Linked DNA regions of Homo sapiens: all the other regions are linked to region 4. Evidence: promoter capture Hi-C in 16 types of primary human blood cells and fetal thymus (Javierre and others, 2016). All regions are on one chromosome and are shown on one strand. Each heading gives the region's core, a stretch centred on a gene start or on the middle of the fragment in contact. The rest is flanking DNA. Distances are from core to core; before and after follow the strand shown. Region 1 overlaps TMEM135 (transmembrane protein 135). Region 2 overlaps TMEM135 (transmembrane protein 135). Region 3 overlaps LOC107984361 (a long non-coding RNA gene). Region 4 holds the start of FZD4 (frizzled class receptor 4). Region 5 overlaps TMEM135 (transmembrane protein 135). Region 6 has its middle 300 kb from the start of TMEM135. Region 7 overlaps LOC107984361 (a long non-coding RNA gene).

What was found. Contacts are between HindIII fragments. The CHiCAGO score rates a contact against its expected background, and 5 or more counts as called.
Region 1: a fragment that was not itself captured here is called in contact with the fragment with the promoter of FZD4 in region 4 in 9 of 17 cell types (endothelial precursors, erythroblasts, megakaryocytes and 6 more); the score reaches 7.9 in endothelial precursors.
Region 2: a contact is called between a fragment that was not itself captured here and the fragment with the promoter of FZD4 in region 4, in 16 of 17 cell types (erythroblasts, total CD8 T cells, endothelial precursors and 13 more). The highest score is 9.0, in erythroblasts.
Region 3: a contact is called between a fragment that was not itself captured here and the fragment with the promoter of FZD4 in region 4, in 1 of 17 cell types (total CD4 T cells). The highest score is 5.1, in total CD4 T cells.
Region 5: a contact is called between a fragment that was not itself captured here and the fragment with the promoter of FZD4 in region 4, in 9 of 17 cell types (naive CD4 T cells, naive CD8 T cells, total CD8 T cells and 6 more). The highest score is 7.3, in naive CD4 T cells.
Region 6: a contact is called between a fragment that was not itself captured here and the fragment with the promoter of FZD4 in region 4, in 2 of 17 cell types (naive CD4 T cells and non-activated CD4 T cells). The highest score is 5.9, in naive CD4 T cells.
Region 7: a contact is called between a fragment that was not itself captured here and the fragment with the promoter of FZD4 in region 4, in 1 of 17 cell types (total CD4 T cells). The highest score is 5.2, in total CD4 T cells.

The regions. Positions count from the first base shown.
Region 1 is chr11:87,234,480-87,237,179 of GRCh38, forward strand. It overlaps TMEM135 (transmembrane protein 135), which reads left to right. Exons shown (of 15, transcript NM_022918.4): 6 at 2,159-2,205. Among named protein-coding and RNA genes, the nearest start is that of TMEM135, 200 kb to the left of the region's middle. The HindIII fragment of the contact is 598 bases long and covers 1,012-1,609 here.
Region 2 is chr11:87,256,859-87,259,558 of GRCh38, forward strand. The region is part of intron 6 of TMEM135 (transmembrane protein 135); the gene reads left to right. It also overlaps the pseudogene LOC101929104. Among named protein-coding and RNA genes, the nearest start is that of TMEM135, 220 kb to the left of the region's middle. The HindIII fragment of the contact is 3,243 bases long and covers 1-2,700 here.
Region 3 is chr11:87,410,601-87,413,521 of GRCh38, forward strand. The region is part of intron 2 of LOC107984361 (a long non-coding RNA gene); the gene reads left to right. Among named protein-coding and RNA genes, the nearest start is that of LINC02711, 310 kb to the right of the region's middle. The HindIII fragment of the contact is 1,178 bases long and covers 940-2,117 here.
Region 4 is chr11:86,953,887-86,956,671 of GRCh38, forward strand. FZD4 (frizzled class receptor 4) reads right to left here and starts at 1,509. Exons shown (of 2, transcript NM_012193.4): 1 at 915-1,509. The coding sequence starts at 1,199. FZD4-DT (FZD4 divergent transcript) reads left to right here and starts at 1,735. Exons shown (of 3, transcript NR_038905.1): 1 at 1,735-1,826. RefSeq lists silencers at 1,187-1,236, 1,367-1,736, 2,087-2,236. The HindIII fragment of the contact is 4,830 bases long and covers 1-2,785 here.
Region 5 is chr11:87,314,330-87,317,029 of GRCh38, forward strand. It overlaps TMEM135 (transmembrane protein 135), which reads left to right. Exons shown (of 15, transcript NM_022918.4): 12 at 142-218. Among named protein-coding and RNA genes, the nearest start is that of TMEM135, 280 kb to the left of the region's middle. The HindIII fragment of the contact is 2,325 bases long and covers 261-2,585 here.
Region 6 is chr11:87,336,469-87,339,246 of GRCh38, forward strand. No RefSeq gene overlaps it. Among named protein-coding and RNA genes, the nearest start is that of TMEM135, 300 kb to the left of the region's middle. The HindIII fragment of the contact is 1,342 bases long and covers 723-2,064 here.
Region 7 is chr11:87,436,147-87,438,846 of GRCh38, forward strand. All of the region lies in intron 2 of LOC107984361 (a long non-coding RNA gene), which reads left to right. Among named protein-coding and RNA genes, the nearest start is that of LINC02711, 280 kb to the right of the region's middle. The HindIII fragment of the contact is 2,584 bases long and covers 1-2,584 here.

The DNA.
Region 1 (2,700 bases), core at 61-2,560, 280 kb after region 4:
AGAGATTTCAAAAGGGCTGCCTGATTAAAAATAATTTCTTTCCAGATTTATGTCTCTGGGTTAGGTTTTTCTATCTAGATCACTTATGTCAGTTACAAAACAAGATAAAAACAATCTGCTGATGCCTCCACTTTTATATGCATCATCTCACTAATTCTTCTAAATAATTCGAAGTATGATATTATTCTCAGTTTATAGATAAGGGGTCTAAGGTTTAGGGAAATTATATAAAGTATCTAGAGTTACCCAGAACTAAGATTCAAACCCAGATCTATCTTACTCTAAAGCTTGAGTTCTTAAACATTGTACTTTTTCTCAGTTTCAAGTGTATTATTTGTAAAGATAATTATCAGTTTAGTACGAACACAGATAGGTTAGCATATTAGGATAGAACCTGGCAACATTTTGAGGGAAGGCAGACTTTGGATATTTAGAGAAGATGAAGAGTGTGTGAAAGATTTGTGGGATACTTCTAGAGAGGTTTTTAGTGTGATCTGCAAGGGGGACACTGATTAGTGCAGGAAAAGTCTGAAGCATTGAACATCTGGGAAGGATGACATTGTCCAACGGGGATTGAATGATAGAGAAATTTAAAAAAATTGAGTGTCATGACTGGGTTTTGTTAGGCAAATTATAACCAGTAAATAAACCCACTTAGACTTCAATTTATAATCAATTAGAATAACTGAAAGTTATTTTACATGCTTTAAGTTATGTTTCTAAAAACAGTGAAATGGTAAAATGAACCTTATGCATCATGGATAGGGTGTTTTAAGTCAGTGGAGAAGAGAGATGGAGAGAGGAAGGAAGGAGGGAAAGAGGGAGGGGAGGAGAGTATGTGTGTTTAGCACAGAAAGATTTTATAGATATAAAATGTTACATAAATATATATAATATTTACTTCATATTAATTGATAACAATCCTCTTTTTCATTGGTATATTTATATATTTCTAAGTCATTCAGGCTGTATGTATAATGCTTATCTTAGGCTAAGACAGCAAACTTGTCAAGCTTGATTTGTAATGGCAAAACTACCATGCTTTCATCAGGTTGACTAGAAATTATTTGTGTTAGAAATAGCAAAACATTTTTTGCAGTGTTTTCATTTCTGTTCTTGTGGTCACCCTTTCACAATAGAAAGAAGGTTCATTTCTTATTTGTCTGTGATGTGAGGCCATTGACGATTCTTAGGCTTAATTTGTACTGTTGTTTTTTAACATAAGAATGCATTCTACAATTTTAATTTTTGTGATTTAAAACAACTTTTCTAATCTGTTTTTTTGGTATAACTAAGACGTTAGTCAGGACTGGAGTTCTGGGTTCCTTCAACATACCATCTTAATATGTTGTGTTTACTGTGATGTTTTTGAGATCATCATTTCAGATGTTCTTGTGCCTGCTTCTAGAGGAATTACTTTTATAGCTAGTCTGTATTCCACAAAGGAATATTGTATTTTTATGAGCTTTTCTTATTGATTAGAATTGGTTGACAACTGGACTATATTTTACATTAGAAGATCTGGTCATCTTCATATCATAGTTAATAACCTTTCTGATTTATTCACTGAACTGATTATACAAAAGCTGTTGTCCTTGTTTTTAAGTTAAGCTTGCATGTTTAGGCTTTCTAACAGACAGTTAAAAATTAGCTGTTCCCTTTTTTGTGAACCCTGTTACCCTTCTATCCCGTCTATATATGTATGTATTATATATAATTATATACATGATGATAGTTACATATAAGTATTGCAATTTATTCTCCTAATATGGGCTATATTAGGGGTGTCCAATCTTTTAGCTTTTCTGGGCCACATTGGAAGAAGAAAAATTGTCTTGGGCCATACTTGAAATACACTAACACTAATGATAGTTGATGAACTAAAAAAAAATTGCAAAAAAATCACAATGTTTAAAGAAAGTTTACAAATTTTGTTGGACCACATTCAAAGCTGTCTTGGGGCTCATGCAGCCTGCAGGCTGCAGGTTGAACAAGCTTCGTTTATATGAAAGGTTGAGGAATATGAAATGTGTGTGACTGGTTTGTATATCCTTTTATTGTTTCAGGCACAAGATTTAATAGTATTTTGCTTTTATGAGTCACTCAAATGGTGATGTCAGTGTTCTTTTGCAAGTAATATATTTTCTCTTTGTTACAGGTCCTTTTGTTTTGCATCACAGCTGCCATGTACATGTTCTTTTTCAGGTATGTTCTGTTATACTTATTTACTTTAATACCCCAAACAGTATCTCTTTGTAATTTCATCAACCACGAAACTAAAGTATTCTCCAAATAATTATCCCTTACAAGCAGCATACTCCCCCCGCACCCCCGCCCAGAGTGGACAGAGGTAAATCATTGCTCCTTTGTGAGTTAAGAAAAGAGAAAGAGAGGGAAGGAAGACTTATTCTCCCCACCCCCCATTCTATTTATAAGTTCATCCTAGAAAGTTGAATATGTCAATTAATAGGACTCAAATCCTGATAAGTGAATTTTTATCTTTTATGGACCTGATTGTATGTAAATACCTAAGTGTTTTTCACTCTGCTTGTAAAACAATCAACATTTTACATTTGGATAAGAAAAAATGACAGTAGATCTCTATCTAAGCCTTCTGCAAGGATAACCTAGCACATTAATGATAGTCTGTAAAATATTGTTTGTTATAATGTCAAAGTTGTACTTTTCATTGACACTGGT
Region 2 (2,700 bases), core at 64-2,563, 300 kb after region 4:
TCCTTTGCCCCTTTCTTTCCTCCTGCCTTCACTTCTTTCCTCTCTCCTTCCACACATTTGTGTGTGTGTATGTGTATGTGTATATGTGTATATATGTCTTTCAGCTTCTCAAATGAGATTATATTATGTAGGCTATATGATTATATGCCTTTGTATTTCCATATAAACCCTAGAAATGGATTCTTATACTAATCTTCAGTTCTTCACTAAGAAACTGGTGATAACTCTTAGCAATGTTGAGTGTGACTAAACATCCAAACATTATATCCTTTCGAGTTCTGGAATCCTCTTTTGCATGCTGTCTGCTTCTTGTTTAAGGAGCATTATTACTAATCACAGAAAGTTCTTAGATGAGACTTTACTGATACAGATGCTCAAATTTGAAGCAGTTAAATTTAACTGTTTGCTTTACTGCTTGTGAGGTGCTATAACTCATTGGGCTATGCTATAACTCACTGTGTCTTTCTCAAGCCTGATTCTTTCTTTCTGTTATTTTCTTTTGTTTAAGTTCTGTGTCGGAGGTAATCAAAAGACACTATAGTGTAGTTGAGAGGGAACTCTGGGGTTCAGCTGTGTTGGTTCAAATCCTTCTCCATCTTACTTGTTTTGTGACTTTGGGTAAGTTATGTAGCCTCTTTGTGCCTCACATTTCTCGTCTTCAGTGGGGATAATAATAGTACTTACCTCATGGGGTTATTGTATTGAATATCTACTGCATAGTAAGCACTCAATAAATGTTAGTTGTTTTTATTATTTAAATCTAAGCTGTAAACGTCATATTTATATGATTCTATTTATCAAAAATGTCCAGAATAGAAAAATCTGTAGAGATAAAAATTAGATTGGTGGCCTAGGGGAGTTGGGAGTGTAGGGAATGACTATTAATGGGTAAGGGTTTTTTTTAGGGTTGATGAAAATGTTCTAAAAGTAATTGTGGTGATGGCTGCACAAGTCTGAATATACCAGAAACCACTGACTGATACAGTTTAGATAGTGAATTGTATAATATTTCAATGGTATCTCAATAAAACTGTGAATGTATTTTTAAATATAAATCTGGCACATTCTTGATCAAAATTAAGTCACAGATTGCCAGATACAAACTGACCACAAGCACGTACTTCCTATACCATATGTACGTCTAAGTCCCTTTCTAAGAATACATTCCAATTTAGTATGAATAGAAATTACATTTATAGTCTTTAGAAATATAATCAGTTAATAACTTGATTATATTTTCTGCATATATTATATATATTTGATTATATATTGATATTGATTATATTTTACACAATAATTATTTTACTGTATTCTGTGTTTATTTTGGGGAAAAGCCTTTTTTTTTTTCAGTTGGAATCACTTTTAATATTTAAATACAAAAAATGAGCACTGGCTTCTCTTTTTTTAAACACACACACAAATCTAACAGCCAAAATGTGCAGAGGAAATGAGCTCCTGCTCTGTCTTCCCCAGTCCCCATCCTGTGGCTAAAGCTGCAGCCAGCCTCTTTCCTCTTATACATAGGGATTCATAGTGGCCACATTACACCACAGTTGTAATGCATTTTGTCTGTTTTACATTGTGTGCATGTCCCTCCCCAACAGCTCCATTCTTTAAGGAAAAAAAAGAAAGCAGTCATTAATGGTCAGGGGCACATCCCTCCCACTGGTGTCAGTTCCTACCCCACAGGAGAAAGTGAGATCTTCCAGTTAGGAGCAATTTTGTGAAAAGAGTGTGTGGCCAGAGCTGGAATAACCATTTGCATGGCTGCACTGTGGTATCAGAGTGAAGACTGAAGTAAGTCAGGATAGTGTGGAGGGCACAGTTGCAATTAAGTCTCTTCATGAGACAATGTGGGGAGATTTCTTCCCACCAGGTTTAGATGGATCAATGTGCCAAAGTTAAAAAAAAATCCAAATAATCAGCAGTTCAAACACAATTGAATTTCTGACTTCTCCCACGGAGACAGCTCATATACGGCAGTAACAATCTAGATCTTTCCAGGAAGTGAAGGAAGAGCCCCTTGCATTCTTCCTGAGAGCCCTGTGTTAGGCCCTAGAAGTATCTGCTGCTGCTGCAGTTGCTGCTGTTGCTCGGTTTGCATCTTCTCAGTCTCAAAGACAACGGGAAGAACCAGGATCATAAAGGAAGTGGTCCCAATCCACACGGCTGCCCTGGGAAACCTGTACATTTTGTGAGCCACAAAGAGGGAGAGAAAGAAGAGGTTCTGGCCGCAGACCGGACCCTCTTCGGAAACATCTCCATCAGGCCCCATAGTCTCTCCGACCAGGTCTCATCTAGCTTCTCCTCGTCGTCCTCCTCCAACTCCTCCTTAGTCTTCTCCACGTCGCCTTTTGGGAGCAATTCCTCCGGGGATAGGGGTTCCCCTGCGACAGCGGCCATGGCTGTAGGGGACACCAGAAGTGGAAAAAAAGGATAGGGAAAAGATATTTCCAAACCACTGTACTTGCCATGGATAATTTTTGAAATGAATGACAACACCCAGAAGGAAATTTTATGTGTGTGTGTATATGTGTATGTGTGTACGCGTGTAGAGCGGGAATACACACACACACTACATATATATATCATGTTACATTTTTTTCCTCTTCCATGGGTCTATTTCAGACATTTTTAAGAATTAGCATAGATAGCACAAATGGAAATTTTTTGGCCTTATTCCAGTCTACATCCTTAAAA
Region 3 (2,921 bases), core at 279-2,778, 460 kb after region 4:
CTCCCCTCCCTCCCTCCCCATAGCCACAAATAAATAAATAAATAAATACATAAACAAACACCACTCGATATTTCAACCAATTGAAGAAGCAGCAAAAAATCCAATTGCAATGTAGGAAAAGATACCTACCTGTGATGTGCATGGCTCTTCCCCAATAGAAATGCTAGGCAGAGAAAGGTGGGTATTGATTTCTGATAAACTGCAACTCTGGGCAGTTGTTCAGGTGAAGATATTTGGTCTCCCAAAGTGTCTCAGGCAGTGGCCATCCCTGGATGTAGACTTCTGTTTCAGAGGGCAGAACCTCATTCAAAGACCTGGTCTTATCTCCACTGTTATCCTGCAGGCCAGGTCACCACCATCTGCCTCCTGGGCCATGGAATTTTTCTTTTCATAGATCTCTCACTTCTGCTTGTGATCCTCCAACCCATCATTCACATGACAGACAGAATGATCTTTTCAAAAATAAATTAGATCACATCACATGCAGCCACACATCCCTTTTTTCTGCTACTCGATGACGCCAATCTGTTTCTCACACAAGAGCTTTTTGCATATTTTCTTCCTTCCCCTCTCTCTTCACTGAGCTAACTTCTATGCCTCCTTCAGGCCTCAACCCAGAGATTATTTCTATACAGAGGTCACCCTCTGCCTTTCCTACCTAAAATTTGTCTTTTCCATTATTTACCCTCATAGTACCCTATGCTTTTCCTTCATGGCATGCATTAGCATTTGTAATTATAGATTTATTTGTTTACTGTTTGTTCTTTTTCATACTGTAAGCTCCATGAGGGCAGGGGAATAGTCTGTTTGGTTAATCATTGTGTATCTAATGTCTAGTACCATGTCTACTACATAGTAGGTGCTCATTAAATATTTGTTGAATGAAAGAATATGCTGTGAGTTACTTTCCATGTAATAGCTCAAATGAGCAGGGGCTAAAGCTTAGAAACTTCAGATAAAAGAATTAGGAAAGGTCCTTAATACATGATTATTTTTATCTGCTGTGTTACATAAGGGTCAAGGACTGGGACTAAGACTTAAGTTCTCTCTACCTTGGTGTTTAGACATAAAGAAATTTGCTTTATAGACAAGAATGGTTTCCATAGAGGCCAAATCAGGAGAGACAATAGGGTTCCTGAGGAATAAATCGTCCTGTGATAGGATTTCTGAGCATTAGCATTATTGATATTTTGGTCTAGACAATTCTTTGATACAGGAGGATGTCTTGTGCATTATGAGTTTAGCAGTAACCCTGGCCTCTACCCACTAAATTCCGGTAGCACTGTCCTTAGTTGAGAGAACCAAAAAATGTCTCCAGACAAGGCCAAATGTACCCTGGAGAGCAAACGTTTCCCCAGTTGAGAACTACTGCCCTAAGAGAAGAAGGGACACAGCAGATTCCAGGACACTTCTCAATGCTGGAAAGAAGAGCTGGTTCTGGGTGGATGGAGGTAGCTAATGTCAGCATTTATCCTATTCCTACCACCCTGTGGGCTTGTTTGAATCCTAGAAGGTAGGCATTAGGTCACTAATGATTATGATGCTTTGGGTTCAAACAATTTTGCTTTGGGAACTCTCTCTGCCAGCTAATCATAACATTGCAGGAGCTATTTCCTCCAGGCATTAAGGGGCAGTGGTATTGTCTTATATCAGTCATGGCATTCTGGACACAGATTCAGTGCTGTCAAAGACCCTTTGTTGAACTGTCAGGATCTTGGGTTAGTGCTGGCTGCAGAACGGGGTGGTGATCTTCACTGATACTGAGATAAGAGTATAAAGTATTCCCAGGAATTCTCCATAAATATTTTGGAAGGAGGATTTTTATAAAATGGGTATACTACCCAAAGCAATCTACGAATTCAGTTCAATCCTTATCAATATATCAATGTCATTGTTCACGGAAAAAAAAAAAATTCTAAAATTTGTATGGAACCAAAAAAGAGCCTGAATATCCAAAGCAATCCTATGCAAAAAGAATAAAGCTGGGTCAGAGGACAAGATGGCTGAACAGATGCAGCCAGGTGAAACAGCTACCACCGAGGGACTAAGTTGACTGGTGTGCTTTTAACAGATCTTCAGAGGGAATGTGCCAGGAGTGAATGGAGGGAAGACACAGAAGCTTGGCTGAAGAGAGTCTCCCAAGACTGAGCCAGGAAGAAATTGAATCCCTGAACAGACCAATAACGAGCTCTGAAATTGAGTCAGTAATGAATAACCTACCAACCAAAACAAGCCCAGGACCAGATGGATTCACAGCTGAATTCTACCAGATATAAAAGGAAGAGCTAGTACCACTCCTGCTGAAACTGTTCCAAAAAATTGAGAAGGGTGTCACCCCTAACTCATTCTGTGAGGCCAGAATCATCAGATACCAAAACCTGGCAGAGATACAACAACAACAAAGAACTTCATGCCAACATCCTCAATGAACATAGATGCAAAAATTCTCAACAAAATACTAGCAGACCAAACCCAGCAGCATATTAAAAAGCTTATTTACCATGTTCAAGTAGGCTTTGGGATGCAAGGTTGGTTAACGTATGCAAATCAATAAATGTGATTCAACACATAAACAGAAGTAAAGACAAAAACCACATGATAATTTCAATAGATGCAGAAAAGTCTTTTGATAAAATTTATCACCACTTTATGTTAAAAACTCTCAATAAACTAGGTATTGAAGGAACATACCTAAAGTAATAAGAGCATCTATGACAAACCCACAGCCAATATTATACTGAATGGGAAAAAGGTGAAAGCATTCCCCTTGAAAACTGGCAAAAGACAAAGATGCCCTCTCCCACCACTCCTATTCAACTTAGTATTAAAAGTTTTGGCCAGGGCAATCAGGCAAGAGAAAGAAATAAAGTGCATCCAAATAGGAAGAGAGGAAATAAAAGTATTTCTATTTGCAGGCAACA
Region 4 (2,785 bases), core at 259-2,758:
TTACAGGCGTGAGCCACTGCGCCCGGCCAGAAACCAGATTTCTGAAGCCTGGACAACTAACGTCTACTTTTTCCCACAACTTCTCTCTTTTCTAAATTTCTAAAAATCACCCAGCCTCACCAACCCAAACATAACCAATGTTAACACTTTAAAAATTTTCCTGTCAGTCTTTTATTATCCCAATAAATTTTTTATTTTGCAGGATTATAATCACCCTGTATATGCAAATTCTTATTACTGTGGAATAAACATTTTCTCTATCATTAGATATGCTTTACATTTTTTAATGACTGCAAAAAAATTTCTTCCAATATACCAACCACCTTCCTGCAGCTTCTTCTCACCCTCCAAGCATTAAACGTGCCTTCAACTGTGAGGATAAGAAAGAACTCAAGCCAACCCAACCACTCCTTCATGCATGACCTCTAAAACGCTGCGGGACGTCGTGAGAAGGGGCTATTCAGCAGAAAAAGGTGCAGTAGTGTTTCATTTAATAACACCCCAAAAATAGTGGGGAGAAGGAAGTTCGGTGAAGGATGGTCTCCTTATCACTCCCTCCAAGTCTTAGCTGCAGCTGGCTCCCTCCCACTCGCCCACCGAGCAGTGGCGGCCAGAATCCTTGGCAGAGATAACCCTCAGCTCCACTGGGGTTAGGGGTCTGGGCCAGACATGGGTGGGCAAGAGAGAAAAACGGAAGGGCGGGGTGTAAGAGTGGGTTCTTTCCCAGGCCAGATGACTTACACAACGTTTTGGCTTCCAGTCCCTGAGAAAGTGGGGGTGGGGATGGAAATCACTTTTCCAGGAGAGCTGTCTCCTTCGGGCTAGGATGATCAACTTGGCATGGGCTCTGCAAAGTTAGTTTGGAGCGTCCCTCCCCAAGGGGTCCCGCCAGGGGTGGGGGTGGGGGCGCCCACCTGCAGCTGGCTGGAGCAGCCGTACTGGATGAGCGGTGTGAAAGTTGTCAGCTGCAGCTCGGCGTCCGTCTGCAGCTCGTGCCCAACCAGGTTGGGCATCTTGGTCACGTTGTAGCCGAGGTTCTGGCACATGGAGATGCGGATGGGGTCGCAGCGCCGCTCTTCCTCGTCCCCGAAGCCCCGCGCCGGCCCCAGGAGCAGCAGCAACTGCAGGAGCAACCCCAGACTGAGACCGACGCCCCCGGGCGCCCCCGGGACGCTCGGCCCTGCGCCCCGCCAGGCCATGGCCAGCATCGGGGGTAGCAGCGGCAGCGGCTGGGGCTGCTCTGGCAGACACCCCCAGTTTGCACGGGGGCGCCGGCTGCCCGCGCTGCTCCCAGCTCCCGGGACGGGAGTGTGATGCGGCGACGAGGGGGCAGCGGCCGGCTCTCCAGCAGCTGCGCGCGACTGTGTGGGATTTTAGACGTCCCGGGCCGAGGCCGAGGGACAGGCTGCGAGGGTCATGGCTGCAGGCGGCGAGCCCACAAGCCGGCGCCGGCCGCGTCCGTTCGGCGTCTCCGCGAGGCCAGCCAGCAGCCAGCGCTGCGCAGCTCTCACCGCCGGAGCCCTGCGCGGCGCTGGAGGCTCGCGGCGCGGCGGCGGGGCGGGACGGACAGCGGGCCTCTCCAATGGCCGGGCGCGGTGGGCAGCTAGGGGCGAGGCGGCGGGGCGGGGCCGCTCTCCCGCAGGAGGAGTCAGGCCCCCGCCCTCCGGCCCCCTCCTCCGGCCGCCCCTCCCTCCCTCCCTCCCCTAGCGCCCCGCCCCGCCCGCCTCCCGGCTCTTGCTTTCCTCCCACCCGGATCTAGGCGCGCAGGGGCCAAGCAGGGACGCAGCCCAGTGGCTCCAGCCACGCCGTCCTGCCCCCTTCTGCAGGTGAGAAGTGCGCCCTGTTCCATCTGCCCCCTTTCCTTCCTGTCTCCTTTCAGCTGTAACCTAGGCCGGTGGCCACCTCCCCGTCAGGCAGAGAAACGTACACAAAGAATTGGGGATTTGGATTTACACCGATTGTGGCTTTCAGTCCCGGTTGTGTGACCTTGAGCAAATTGCTCAACCCCTCGGCGTCAGTCTCCTCTGTAAAGTCACTTGGGAGGATTAGAGATAAAGTGTAGAAGGCTTAGCATGGTGCCTGGTACTGCGTGAGTCCACAGCTATTTTCACTCCGGACCAGCGGCGATCGGGGCCCGGCCTCTCCCCGCCCCCAGACTCGCCCGACCTGCGCAGGGAGCCGCCCACCTCCAGCCGCCAGCGGGGAGGCGCCCCAGAGCTGCGGAGCTGCAGACCCGCCGACGGTCTCGCGCTCTGATTTCCTCACCGTATGAAATGAAATTCCACAGGGGGATTCGAAAGGAAATGAGACCGGGACTCTCCGTGCTTCTCGGCCCGCCGCCCTTCCTGTCTCGGGGACACGGTTTCTAAATAAGGTTGGGAGGGTGAGAGGGCGGGAGGGGAGAGGCTTGACCTGTGCACTGGGGACGAGGAAGGCGCACAACCACCGTGACTCCTCTCTCCCGGCCTCCCGGGCACCCCCTCCCCACCAGGCTGCACCCCTTTTTTTCTTTGCTTCTGCTTCGGCTCCTAGGGATCTGGGGATCATGTGACCCAGGTTTGAACCCAACTTTCCTGTCTCATTACCAGCCCCCCGCGGCTTTGTGCTGGTCCACCCTCTCTCTGCTTTCCAGTCGGCCAGTAAACTCCCAGCAGGTGGATTCCTCCACCGTTTACTTGTTGCTTGACTGTGTTGAAGCTATGGTGCCTCTCTGAGCCTCAAAGTGGCCGGCTGTAAAGTGGGGAAGTTCATATCCACCTCACACAGTTGTTCTAAGAGTTCAGTG
Region 5 (2,700 bases), core at 173-2,672, 360 kb after region 4:
TCATCTGGTTTATTACTGTCCTTGATTGTGTTGTAACAAGAGATAGTGCTGATTCTATGTAAGTGAATTAACATTTCTGATGACATAATAACAAATAAATACTCTGCGATCTTATCAGTTATTTCTTATTTCTTGTTTCAGGATTTTTGGCAGGTATATCAATGATGTTTTATAAAAGCACAACAATTTCCATGTATTTAGCGTCCAAATTGGTAGAGGTAAGCGAAATTTTTGTGCAAGAATAGTTCCAAAGAACATAAAGCTTTTAGCTGCTGACTGTTTTAGCAGCAAATGTATATCCCAATGGCAAACATAAATTTTAATCCTCTAAAAGTATTTGCAAAGTTGATTCCCCTGTGTTTTTCTTTGTGTGTGTGTTATTTTCAAATATACATTAAGTATAGAAAGAGTAGTGTAATTAACCCTCATGCACCCATCATGCAGCTTCAACAGTTATCAGTATTTGGCCAGTCTCCTTTCATCTATACTCCTCAACCCCACAGGTATCGAGTTATTTTAAAGCCAATCCCAGACACTATATAATTTCATCCTTAAAAAAATTTCAGCATAAAGACTCCTTAAAGAATAAAGGCTAAAGGCTTTTTCAAAACAAACAAATCAACAATACCACAGTATCATTATCATACATTAAAACCCTCCCAGTAATTCCATACTAATATATCCAATTAGAGTTTATGTCTTCACTGATTATCTTATAAATATGTTTTTGCAATCATTTTATTTTAATCAAGTTCCAAACAAAGTTTCTTGTAGTTTATAATAGTTACCCCCCTACTACTGCTGCTACTGCTTTTCTTCCTCCTCCTCCTCCTCCTCCTCTTCCTTCTCCTCCTCCTCCTTCTTCCTTGACATTTATTTGTTGAAGATGTAGGTCATTAGTTCATGGAATTTCCCAAATTCTGGATTTTGCTGATTGCACCCTCACTGTTGTTGTTTAACATGTTTCTTTAACTCATAAATTTTTTTAGTTGTTAACTAGATCTTGAGACCTAAGCAAATTCAGGTTTAAATTTTTGTAGGAGGTAACAGCCATACTTCACATTTACTGTGTATGTGAACTTCCAATTGCATCATCACATGACGAGGCACAAAAATGTCTGGTTCTCTCTCTTTTTGTGATGCTAAGATTGATCAGTGGGCTTAGGTGTTGATAGAGCCAACATAAGGTTCCCCAGTAGCCCTATAGCTATTGGTTTTCGCAGCTGTTAATAATTATCACTGGGATTCATTATTTCATTAAGAGTTGCAAAATGATGAAAAATACTATTACTCTTTATTCTGTGTTTATTAGCTGAAATTGTTCTAAATGCATTTTTCCTTTTCAACTATTTGGTTACTCTGAAATACGTTGTTCTGGAAAGTCAAAATAAAATGCTTGATTAGTTCATTTTTAATTACCAGTGTTTAGAATGAGTTAGTACCTTAGCATCCTGCAAAGTTGACCCATGAGTCTTTATTTTTAAAGTATCATTATGAAGATTTGGAGTTTAACATATATGATTTATTTTCATTATGCTCAAATTGTTCCCATCTTTGGCCATGAGAGCTTCCTTAAGTTGACTCCTCCTTGTTGTAACATAACACCATTATCTTTGATAGCTTTCTTGCTGTAAGACAATATATTCCGGGCTCATCTGGGACATTTTCTGCCTCAGATGTAGAATCAGTCTTCTCTGTAATGGCTCCTAGTTTGTTTTAGTGGGAAATGGTATTTAAAGATTTCAATCCAGGTGCTAGAGGTTATTTGCTCCCAGGCTAGTTACTGATTCTTGGCTTTCGCAGTGAATGGAGCTAGAGAATCTCCCTCCCCTTGCTTTTTAGAAACAGAAAATACATTTGGAACATAGTGATATTTCTAATTCAAAGTTAAGAGTGTAGATTTTATTTAACTTAATTACTTGCTTTACCCAAATATATGTGTGTGTGTGTGTGTGTGAGAGAGAGAGAGAGAGAGACAGAGAAAGAGAGAGAGATTGAGAGAATATATACATCATGAAATCAGGAGGACAGGCAGGAGCCAGACCATCATGTAGGATTTTAAAAGCTGGGGTAAAGAATTTGTTTTTTTCTCAGTGCACTGGAAACCACTGAAGAGTTTTAAGCATGGAAATGACAGTATTTAATTCACATTTTAAGAAGAACATTTTGGCCACTATTTTAGAGGGAGGCAGGATCAAAGCTGAGAGAACAGTTAGTCTGTGTCAGGAAATGGTGGCTTGCACCAGGATGATAGCAGTAGAGATGGAGAGAACTATACAGATTTGGTGTATGTTTAAGAGTAGAATTGGCAAGACTTGCTAATGGAGAGGAAAAGGGAACTGAGAGAAAGAAAATAATCCTTAGGTGGCAAAAATATATTCTTTAACACAAGAGGAAACCAATATTGAGATCTAGTTTATTAAAGGTATTTTACAGCTAAGTGGCCAGAGTTTTTTAAGGCAAGGAATGGTATCTCTCTGTTTCTTGTGTCATCAGGCCATATCTGATCCTGGCAAAAGAAACTGGCATATAAACTATGGTGATGCAGACTTTTTTTTTTTTTTAAATAGGATATTAGAAATTTAAGCTTGCTATGTCCTTTTGTGGAATTCATTGCTCTGGTAATAGACAATCATTTTTCTGTGATTGAAGTTAATTTTATATTAAAATGTTCTATTACTGTACAGTGAAAATGATATA
Region 6 (2,778 bases), core at 144-2,643, 380 kb after region 4:
GTAAAGAGCTTTATCTGCAATATATAAAGAACTGTTGGAACTCAATAGGAAGATTGACTTCTGGCATAACAGCATGAGGAGTTCTGCTGACACATTCCCCGGTGAAACTAGTGAAAGTTATTATTTTTTCTGTCTCTGCTGCTTGAAGGAGAAAAACATTGTTAAAATCTCCAGCCATTTAGAGTCTCTGGAAATGGTCCTCAGGACAAAGAGCAAATGAAGAAACATCTCTTTTAGAAAATTTAGTAAGAAAGGTGAGATTCTGTGATATTTGAACCAAGACTTCTTCCACCCTCCCCACTCCCAGCTCAGCAAGGTAGTGACTCCACTCTAGATAACTGCAGCCAACAACACAAGGCTCTTTCCCTCCTTGGTTCCCAATCAAAGGCTTTTTTTTTTTTTTCCAGTAGAGATAGCACTTAACAACTCTCATCCTGCCCCTTCTTGCCTGTTGCTGAGGTTAAATCCCAGGTGAATGTGACTGAGAGGTGGAAGCTCCTTTCTTCTACCGAACTCTTACTCTTGGAATGGAGGTTCTACCTTAGGTGTAGCAAACAGAAAATATTGGGTCCTTATAACCCTTCTCCCATGCAGAGAATATTGAGCCCTTATTAAGGTGGTAGGTCCATGCCAGAAGAGGCAAGCTGAGAGGACCAGACTGCAGCTACTCCCCATTCCCACTGAATTCTCAGCTCCTAGTATGTGAGAATCACTTGGAGAGAAGCTTGCCATTGTCCTTACTCTCCAGCTCCAAAGTCAGGGAAAGATGGAAAGGAGCCCTACCAGTACCACTGTCATCCCCAGTGACTGTAGGCATACCCAAAGCTGTACCATCCTGAAGAGCAACATCAGAGGCTGGACACTGTAGGGGAGAAATAGACTTCACTAAAATAATTCAACCAGTCACTAGACCAGCAGACAAGCAACAACAAAGCTCAGAGTGGGGTATTCATTATCCAGTGTTCCTACAATATATTATCTAAAATATTCAGTTTCCAACAAAAAAATTTTTGAGTCATGCAAGGAAACAGGAAAGTGTGACCCATGCAATGAAAAAAAAAAAACCAAAAACGTAAAATAAAAATAACCAGGCAACAGAAACTGCCCATGAGAGTGGCCAGATGTTGGCTTTAATAGGAAATGATTTTAAAGTAACCATTATAAATATGTTCACAGAACTGAAGGACAGCTTGACTAAAAAAGGTAAAGGAAGGTATAGTGATAATGTTTTATCAAATAGAGAATATCAATAAAGATAGATTTCTTAATGGAAATTCTGGAGTTTAAAGTACAATAACTAAAATTTAAAAATGTATTAGAAGTGCTCAACAATAGATTTGAATTGGCAGCAGAAGGAATTTCTGAGCTTAAGGATTGGTCAATAGAGATTATGCGTTCCAAAGAACAGGAAAAAAGAATGAAGGAAAGTAAACAGAACCTCAGAGAAAGGCGAGATACCATTAAGTACACTGATACACATGTAATGTGAGTATCAGGATTATCAGGAGGAGGGGAGGGGAGGGAAGAAGAGGGAAAGAGTTAGGTAAAAAAATACTGGAAGAAATAATGGCTGAAAACTTCCCAAATTTATTGACAAACAATAACCTACACATCCAGGAAACTCAATGATCTCCGAATTAGGTAAACACAAAGAGAGCCATAGATAAACATATTATAGGAAAAATGTGGAAAAAGACAAAGAGATAATTTGAAAGAAGAGAAAAATAATCTATCACTTTCAAAGGAACCTCCAAGATTAACAGCTGACTTCCTAGCAGAAACAATAAAGGCCAGAAGGCAATGGGATAACATAGTCAGTGTGCTCAAAACTCAATAATACGAAAAACAGTCTGATTTTTTTTAAATGGGCAAAAGATTTGAACACATTTTACATAAGAAGATACGTGGATGGCAGATAAGTGCATTAAAAGGTGCTCCACATCATTGCAAATTAAAACCAGTTGCAGATTAAATGTCAATTAGAACCACAATGTGACACCACTATACACTCACTGAAATGACTAACTACAAAAACTATACTAACTGCTAGCAAGGATGTGGAGAAGCTTGAACTGTCATATATTGCTAATGGGAATGTGAATTAGAGCAACCTAATTGAAACAATTTGTTCATCTCTGAAAAGCTAAACATACAGTAGCATATGACTCAGGCATTTCAATCACAGCCATAGCTACCCAAGAGAAATGAAAGTCTTATATATGAATGTTCACAGCAGCTTTATTTGTAATAGCCAAAAAGTTGAAAGAACCTAAAAGTCTTTCGGTAGGTGAATGGATAAACAAATTTTGTATATCCATATAATAAAATACTTTGCAGAAATGAGAAGAATGAGCCAGTGACATGTGCAACATGCTAATAGTTTTTAAAACCTTTTATTGTGAAATATACATATATCGTACACCAAAATCAACAAGTAGAATGTTGCCAGCACCCTCAGAAGCCTATTTTGTACCCTCTTGTAATCGTAATGCTTACCTCTCCCAGAGATAGCCACTGTTCTTTTTATAATAATCATGTCTACCTTAATGGGCATTCCCAAGCACTAGAGATTATTACATTGACAAGTTCTTGAACCTTATGTAAATGGAATTATACACAGTATATCAGGGTTTTTTTGTTTTTGTTTTTTATTTGTTTTTTTAATTTTTGAGACAGAGTCTTGATCTGTCGCCCAGGCTGGAGTGCAGTGGTGCAATCTCAGCTCACTGCAACCTCTGTCTCTCGAATTCAAGCAATTCTCATGCCTCAGCCTCCTGA
Region 7 (2,700 bases), core at 43-2,542, 480 kb after region 4:
AGCTTTCTTGAAGAATTCTCAGACAGCCAACTGTATCAATTCCTTACTGGAACCACAGTTATAGAGCACGTGGATGTAGGAGTACAATGGAGAGTGCTCAGTGAGGGCCAAAACTACTGGGGAAGCTGGGGTTGGCTTCCTGGAGAAGGTGGGCCTTGAAGTGGGACAGGTAGGAAGGGTGACAGGAAGGGCGTGCACCCAAGACTCTCTTTTCACTTCCTTGACCTGGCTGACCCTAACTACACCTTCAGGGTGCAGCAACAATGCCACCTCCTCTGGTGAGGCTTTTTCAACCTCGTGAGTTAGGGCTGGGGGTATCTCTGGGATCCCACAACACCCTGTGCTTACTTATCATATCACTACTCATTATGCCAATTTATAATTATCTGCTCTTTTACATGCCTTTGCTCTAAGCTATAGGAGAGGAGGGAAGTGTTTTGCCAATCCTTGGCACAATGTCTGGCACACAGTAGGCATTCAAAAATGTTTGTTGAGATAATGAGAGATGAGGGCATTCCAGGCAGGAAACAGCACAAGCCGAGATTAGGAGGTGGGATCGACCTTGCTGTGTTTGAGGGCGTGGAAGCAGACTATTCAAGGATGGTCCAGTTGTAGAATAGAGAGGAATAAGGTTGGCTTTATTCCTTCACCAAACACAGCTTGAGCACCTCCAATGCACCAGGCATTTGCTGATAGGAAAAAAACCATCCTCTCTCTCTAGTGAAGAAATAGATTTGTAAACAAAAAATTATGGGCCAGCTCCTGTCAAGAAACAGCACGAGGGAAACAGTAGTGAACAGATCAGAGAGCCACAGCAACCCAGAGTGTGGATGTCGAACACTGCTGAGAAGTGTCAGGACAGGACACTTGAACCTGCTCCTGATGGAGGAGTAGGATTTCATCAGGCATCGAAAATGGGGAAAGGGCAGGCCTTACCATCTAAAGTCACACTTGCATTTTGACTCCTCTGCCTGTGATCAATCAACCTTCAATGACAGGGAACTTGATACCCCCAAGGCAGCAGCCCATTCTGTTTTGGATGATTCAAAATATTAGGGCTAAGGTTTGTCAGGCAGGCTGTGGTTGTGATATGGGGTATGTGTTGATGTATATGAGGCGGGTTCTGACCCAATACCCTCCACATTTGCATGTGAACTCTGTCAACTTTCACTAGATTCTTGACCTTAGCCTTTGTGAAGGGCTATCTATCTTTCTCACCACTGTATACTGAAGGCGGGCCCATTGCCTCACCAGAGCAGACACCCATAGAGATTTGGTGAATGTTCGAATAGATGCCAAGAAAGAAAGGCAGTGTTCCTGGATCTACTGCAACAGTAGCTGGATTGAAGCAGCCTTAAGTCATGAGCACTGAGGTTATGGTCCCACTTGTCCCCATTATCTATCTTAAAACTGCCCATTGCTTCATGCCTTGTTTTACCAGGATTGTGGGAGGATAGGTGCTGCAACACGGCAGAGATTGGCCAGAGCCTCCCCTGGGTCAGTGAGCATTTCATGGTAGCTCATTTGGCCAGAGCCTCCCCTGGGTCAGTGAGCGTTTCATGGTAGCTCATTCCAGGTCCTTATCTCTTTGTAGGTTGTGAAAGAACAATATCAAAGAAATAATCCTGTGTTCTATTTTTAACAGGTAGGGGATAGCTGAATAAGTAAATAGCTCTTGGAATTGAATGTATGTTCCAATGGGGAATTGTATACTATTGTGATTTCAAAAATAAAAACAGGAGATGGTGTTTCTGTCACCTGGGCTGGCAGTGGAAGGGGAAGTAAATTAGAAGACAGAAACCTGAGTTCTTTCAGGCTTATGCCTCACTTGATTAAAACACTTGGCCAAGTCAGGTCACCTCTCTGGAATTTAGATTACTCATTGAAAAGTGATGGAATTTATTTAGGTTCATAAAACTCTGAGTGCCTGGAAAGACATGGGGATTCACTGATGTGTTTTAAGAAGGGAAATGACATGGATCTTTCAAGCAACTGTGTGAGCTGTTCCAATGGAGTGTTTTTTTTTTTTTTTTTTTTTATGCTGAGACAAGTAATACACTTGATCAATTCCTCTGGAATTGTTAATTGCAGGGTTTTTTTTTTTTTGTCTTTTACTTACATTTTTATGTTCCTATTTTGTTTTAAAAAAATCTTCTTTGGCTTAATTAAAAAATCCACTTTAGTATTTTTATCTGCCTCATAGTCAAACTCACCAGGTATTCTACCAGTCTGTTTTTCTGTTTTTGTTTTTATTTTTCCTGGAAACCTTCTTTCTGGAATTGTCTTTCTGATACAGTCTGGACTGGTGGCTCTCCAGGACCCACTGCACAGCTGTCATCTTGGGACTTCCCTTTATCCCTTTCCTGTGTTAGCTCTCCTGTTTTCTAGACCCTATTTTAAAAAATTCTTGATGTATTTCCTCACTTTGGTGGAGAATAACATGTGGTGGTTCCCAGAAAAGGAATTTAAGGAAAGCCTTTTTTTTTTAAAAGTTGCCTATATGAAAATGCATTTTCCACATACTTACACTTAAATGACAACGTGTCTGGTTATGACTTTGGGTTAAAACCCTCAGAATTGGGAAAGCTTTGTTGCATTGATTTTTGGCTTCCAGTGTTGCCTTAAATAATACAATACTGATTCTTAGTCTCTAGTATATCACTACTGTTTTTCTTTTTTGTGGGTTTTAGAGTCTTCTCT